Regions from separate parts of the Homo sapiens genome. Here region 1 is linked to region 2. The links are contacts of gene promoters, found by promoter capture Hi-C in blood cells and fetal thymus (Javierre and others, 2016). All regions are on one chromosome and are shown on one strand. Each heading gives the region's core, a stretch centred on a gene start or on the middle of the fragment in contact. The rest is flanking DNA. Distances are from core to core; before and after follow the strand shown.

Region 1 (2,901 bases), core at 324-2,823, 240 kb before region 2:
ACACATAGAACAGTGACTGGAGCTTAATAAACTGCTTGATAAATTTAGTGGTGGTGGTGGTGGTAATAGTAACTGCTTAATACATTTATTTGTAGTAGAAGTGCTAGTAGTAATAAGTGTTTAATAAAAGTAGTAGTAGTATTTAATGGCTATATAATGAGTGGTATAGTTAGTGGTTATACCGTAAATTATTTAACCAAGCTCCTACTACTGTACATTTTGTTTATTCCTCATTCTCCATAATCATAAAAATGCCAAAATTAATATATTTGTGCACATAGTTTTTTTCCTTGCTTTGGATGATTTTCTTAGGAAAGTGTCCCAGAAATGAGATGGCTATCTCAAACACAGCTGGATGGAGAGAGTGAGAACCATGCCAGGTCATCCTCCACAGCCCCTTTATCTTCTCCCTCCCACCATGGTGTCTCCCCTTCTCTCCTCTTACCCCTCTCTGGGGTATGGTGACTCTGAGGGAGGGTAAGAAGCAGGGGGTCCCCCAGGTGGGCATCTCATAATACATCTCCCTCCCTCCCACACCATCCAGCACGACTAGGGGTTAAGTGACATGTGACATGAAATGTGCTAGCCCTCCTAGGGCCATTTGCATTGTAACAGCAGCTGAGACCTTAGGCCAAATGAAAAATGAGCTGATGGTGACTTAGGAAACAATAGAGAGCAGGTTGGAATGGCAAAGCTCCTTTAGTCTGGGTGTAGAGGAAGAGAGGGAGAGGAGAAGGATGAGGTGATCGTCAGTCAGCTCAGAAATGCTCCTTCCCACATCCTAGATCAGGCCCTGCCAACTCTGGCTTGAACCGACGCTCAAGCCTAAGGCAGCACTCACCAATCTTTTTCTCACCATGGCATACATAAAAATGATAACATTCATATGTCATGTCTGGTTATGGAACACGGAGGTGCCCACCTGGGAGCCCCTGAGTGCTGAAACATCAGTATCCCAGCAGACCTATAACTTTGTGGCGCAGAACTGCGGGTGCTCTGGCCTTGTGGGCTCCTTCGTCCCAGTCTCCTTCCCCATCTCTTCAGCTCTCTGATGCCCTTCCTAAAGTGCTGTTTCATTATGTCACACCCTACTCAGTTACTCTCAACCTTCCCCTGTCTCCTAGCTGGGCATTCAAGACCCTTCTCATTCTGGCCTCAATCTGTTTCTAGTCCCATTTCCTTTTGCTCCCATCCGAGGATGCGGCTCCAGCCGGGCACCACACCTTGCCCCGCAAACATCGCGTTTGTTCTAGCCTCTCACTCTGTACTCACACTAGTCCTTCTTAGCATGCCTTCCCTTCACCTCTGCCTTTACTCTCACCCCTTGTCCCAGACCTAACCCAGTCCCCATCCCTTCTGGGAAGCAGCTCTGTCTGCATCAGCCCTTCCCTGCATATCAGTAGCCTTCACGCTATGATCCATTCACTCGACCCTTGACCCTTTAGTCCAAATTACCTTTTCATGTGTGTGTGGCTTGTGTCCCCAGCCAGGCTGAGGACAGACATGTGAGGCATGGAAGGGCATGAGCTTTGGAGCCCAGGGACTGCCATGCTCACTTCCCTGGGATGCATTTCTTCTTCTATAAATACAAAAAGTCTTGGCCAGGCATGGTGGCTCACACCTGTAATCCCAGCACTTTGGGAGGCTGAGGCGGGTGGATTGCTTGAGTTCAAGACCAGCCTGAGCAACATAGTGAAATCCTATCTCCACAAAAATACTAAATAAATAAATATAAAAGATCTAACTCTTGGAGTGGTTGTGAGGTTCACCTTAGTGCATATAAAGTAACCAATGTGTGCCATGTACATAGTAGGCCCAGCTCAAGCAATGGGCTGCCTTTCCTCTCCATGGCACTGGTTACACAACAGATCCTGGGCAAAAGACCTATGGGTCTCCTTCCAAGCCCCAGGGTAAGGTAGTGGTTGGCATCCTGCCCTGCGCCCATGATGGGTACTAGACCCTCAGTGCAGCCCTTGTCCCCTGCCCAACAGGCCGCTTCCTGGAGCTGCATATGTACATGACATCTGCACTGGGCAAGAATGACATGAAGGCCATTGGCCTGCAGATGGCCCTTGACCTCCTGGCCAACAAGGAGAAGAAAGACTCCATCACGGGGCTGCAGACGCGCACCCAGCCTGGGCGGCCTGACTGGAGCAAGGTAATGCCAACTGGAGCCCTGCAGCTTGCAGGTATGGATGAAGCTGAGAGCTCGAGGCAGCGGTGGGGAGACGAGGCCCAAGCTGTCAGGGGCAAAGTGTGAGGTTAAGTCCAGAGTCCAGAAGGGACCTCGTGGTGTGAAAGGTAAACAGGGCACCTACACTGGCTTTATCACTAACCTTTGTTCCATCATTAGCCTCAGTTTCTCCATCTGTTCAGAGAGGAAGTTAGTCTCTATGACCTCAAAGACCCCTGCAGCCTTGACTCCCTATGGACCAGTGTCAAAAGGCCTGAGTGGACAGGGACCTGGAAAAACAACAAATCTTATCATCTCCTGTTACAAATGGGGAAACTGAGGCACAGAGACATGAAATCGTTTGCAATCCTTTTATTTTATTTCTCAGATTGGTTTTATTATTTTTCTTTCCTGAACACTTACTTGTCAGGGTTTGCGGTTTGCAGGAAGTGGCCCAGAAGGTGCTGCTTTTAAAAGTGCTGCAGATGACCCCATGCCTGGGTCATGACAGCTGAGTGGGAGGGGAATGTCTGTGGTGAGTGCTTGGGCATCAAAGAGGACTTTCAGAAAAAGGCAATTCATAAGCAGAATTTGGGGTAGAAAAGGGTCCTCACTGGGGGAAAGACTGACATCAGGAAGGATATTTAAATCACAGCAGGGTGGCCAGCCCTGGGGACTAACACCAGGTTCAGACTCCCATGGGAGTCCCAGAGCACTGTATGCATCTC
Region 2 (2,902 bases), core at 403-2,902:
GTAATCCACTGACCACCTCCATTTAGGTTGGGAGCCTCTTTATCTTCCCTCTTTAGTTTCTTCAAGGTGCACACACAGATACCTACAGCAGGCAGGAATCCAGGTGGGGCACCAGGCATCTCTGCTCACCTTGGCTGCTGGTGGTGGGGTGCCTGCCTGTGCTGTGCATGCTGCAGCTTTGGCAGGGTGGCCAATCAGTCCAGTGCCAGCCTTTGCCTCCCAGAGAATGCTTCACACCCTATTCTTCCCCCAAACCCATCACTGGCCCAGACATCAAAAGCACACATCCCTGTGCTATTCCCCTTCAAAGAGCTTCATATCTAATATCTCACTGAGTCCCCCGACTAGCCTTGGAAAGGCAAAGCAGGGATTATTAATCTCCATTTTGTAGATGGTGAGGGTCTTGTCCAAGGCTACTCTGAATTCAGCATAGAGCTGGGACTGGGCTCCACTCTTGTGTCCAGTCATTCTTGTCAAACTCTGGTCTGTGGAATATACATGCCTGCCTCTGTGTAGGCCCCAGTCTCTTTCCCTTTAAGAACTTGGGTCTGAGAGGACAAGCGCATGTCGCACGCACACACACACGCACATGCATACACACCCTTACAAGATGCACAGCCACCAAAAAGCCTAATAAAGCAAGGTGCCCAAGACCACGGTTCAGGATCCGTAAAAATGGCCGGAGATAATTGACTGCAACCTATTCACTGCAAATGGGGCAACTTGGGCCCACAAAGGGCCAGAGACTTGACCCGAGTCACAGAGTAGACTAGAGCCCAGGTCTCTGGACTCCCAGTCCTGTGCTCTCTCCACTGTGTGTGCCCTCAGCAAACAAGGCAAGGCAGGGAGGAGCAGGAGCTCAGAGAGCCTGGGGCTGAAGGGTGGGAGGAAAGAGCCTGGTGGGGGACTTCGGTCCACAGGTGTGGATGTTCCAACCTTTCTCTGGCAGGGTCGGGGTGGGGGCACCAGGTAGCTGCAACCTGTTCCTTCAGCACCTGGGAGGAGACACAGAGTCTGGTTCCCTGAAGCCAAATGTTTCTTCTTTGTCCTCTGTGTCCCTTCATCTCTTATAGCTGTGTCCACTGAGTGGCAGAGGTCCAGGCCCAGCGCCTTCCAGTCTAGGAGCCTGTGACCTGGGACAGGATCCCTGGGGAAAGGGTGAGGGCTGGCAAAGGGCCCGCCACCCTGAGCACTCCAAGAGACAGGGGTGGAACTCACTTCAAGGATTCAGGGCGGCGAGGATCCTCTCCCACCGGCGAAGCGGACACCGCGGTGGGGCTGCGAGTACCCAGTTGTTGTTTTTTTCTCCTTCCCTGTTCTCCACCCCATGCACTTTTCCGAGGGGCAAGCTCCGCAGTTCTCCCATCAAGGAGGCTCTCCAGGCTCCCTGCCGGCCTTCGGCTCCTGGGGTGGAGGTGGGCGTGGGGTACATGGGCCCTAGGAGAATGGGGTGTGAGAGACTCCCCTGGGCTTATGGCTTTGGTGGCACCTCAGGCTGTGGAATGGGGTGGCGAGTCTTTGGAAGTCACAGAGCCCAGGGTCGGTGGCACGTGATGAGGCGCAGGCCTGGCTCAGGGGGTGGTGCCCACGGCCCTCGGCTCCTCCCCCGGGGCCGCCCCGCCCCGCGCGGGAGGGGACGGGCGGGGACCGGCATGGGTAGGCGCGGCGACCCGCAGGGCCAGGTGCAGGGCCCGCGAGTCCGGGGTCGCCGCAGCCCGGGAGGAGTGTCTGGTCTCCGGCCTGCCTGTGCTGTCCCCGCGCCCTGTCCACTGGACTCCCGAGACCCTTGGAACCCAGGTAACCCGGGGCGGGACTCCCCGCCGCGCGCCGCCTCCCCACCTCCCGGTCCACGCGCACCCGCCCTCCGCGGCAGCCCCAGCCGCCCTGCGCCCGTGGAGCCCGTTGAGCCTGGGTGGCCGCTCCGAGGGCGGGTCTGGGAAAGTTTGTGCCGGGGCGGCCCTGATCCGGCGGCGGCGCGGCTCGGCCACTTTCACCGCACGCGGGGCCGGTGTGAAGGTGGGGCGGCCGCCGCCGTGCAGAAGGCTCTCTGCTGCAATCGAGGGCGGTGAGGGGAGCTGTTGCCTTCTCGCACCTTTTCTCTCACTCTCCAGGGCGTTTGCGCCGCTTATCCTTCCTCCACCGCCCCCCTCCCGCCGCCCCCACTTTAATAAAACCCTTGGATTGGGGCTGCACAGTTGGCGATTTCTTTACACCTGTGCTTCCCGCCTCCTGAGCCCAGATGTGAGCCTGGGCTGAGCAGGACCGTGTGGGTGAGGGGCGGCCCACTGCCTGCGGGGGTCGTCCCGGCCCTGTTGAAGTGGGTGCCCAGCTACAGGGAGTTCCCCCTGCTCTGTCATTGGCCTCCCCCCGGCCACAGCCCCCAGCTGGGCATCTCCTGGCTCCCCTAGCACTTCCCAAGTCCTAGTCGGATGAGCCCAGGAGAGGGGGTGGACCCCGGCCCAGCAGAACAAGAACTCAGGAGCCCGGTAACTCTTATCCGTGAGCAGAACCGGCTTCCTCCCGCTTAGGTTGGGAGGAGGGCTCAGCTTAGTGGGAGTCGGGGGTGACAACTGCCCCTTCCCACGCAGAGCCATAGAGAAGAGATGGGGAGAGGTCAGGGGATCTGAGAAGAGCTAGCAGCCAAAAAGGGACACATCCCTGATTTCATTTGAACCTAACAAACCAATGGCGAGTAGATATTAACACATGGGCAGATGAGAAGACAAGGAGGCCCAACAAAGCTCAGCCATTTGCTGGAGAAACTGGTGGGCTTTTCTCCACCACTGAGTGGCGGGTTTCCCACCGCATCCTTCCAGAGCTGCATGGTCGCTTCTGCATTCTTGCAGTGCCCTTGACTCAGCAGAGGTTTGTTTCTTTTACCCCACTCCCCACCCCCCTAGGT

What was found. Contacts are between HindIII fragments. The CHiCAGO score rates a contact against its expected background, and 5 or more counts as called.
Region 1: a fragment that was not itself captured here is called in contact with the fragment with the promoter of PAQR5 in region 2 in 1 of 17 cell types (endothelial precursors); the score reaches 5.1 in endothelial precursors.

The regions. Positions count from the first base shown.
Region 1 is chr15:69,053,343-69,056,243 of GRCh38, forward strand. It overlaps SPESP1-NOX5 (SPESP1-NOX5 readthrough), which reads left to right. Exons shown (of 17, transcript NR_033672.2): 16 at 1,992-2,158. It overlaps NOX5 (NADPH oxidase 5), which reads left to right. Exons shown (of 16, transcript NM_024505.4): 15 at 1,992-2,158. Among named protein-coding and RNA genes, the nearest start is that of EWSAT1, 26 kb to the right of the region's middle. The HindIII fragment of the contact is 4,332 bases long and covers 1-2,901 here.
Region 2 is chr15:69,297,260-69,300,161 of GRCh38, forward strand. It overlaps PAQR5 (progestin and adipoQ receptor family member 5), which reads left to right and starts at 1,653. Exons shown (of 9, transcript NM_017705.4): 1 at 1,653-1,797. It overlaps PAQR5-DT (PAQR5 divergent transcript), which reads right to left and starts at 1,504. Exons shown (of 3, transcript NR_184010.1): 1 at 1,219-1,504. The HindIII fragment of the contact is 4,969 bases long and covers 1-2,902 here.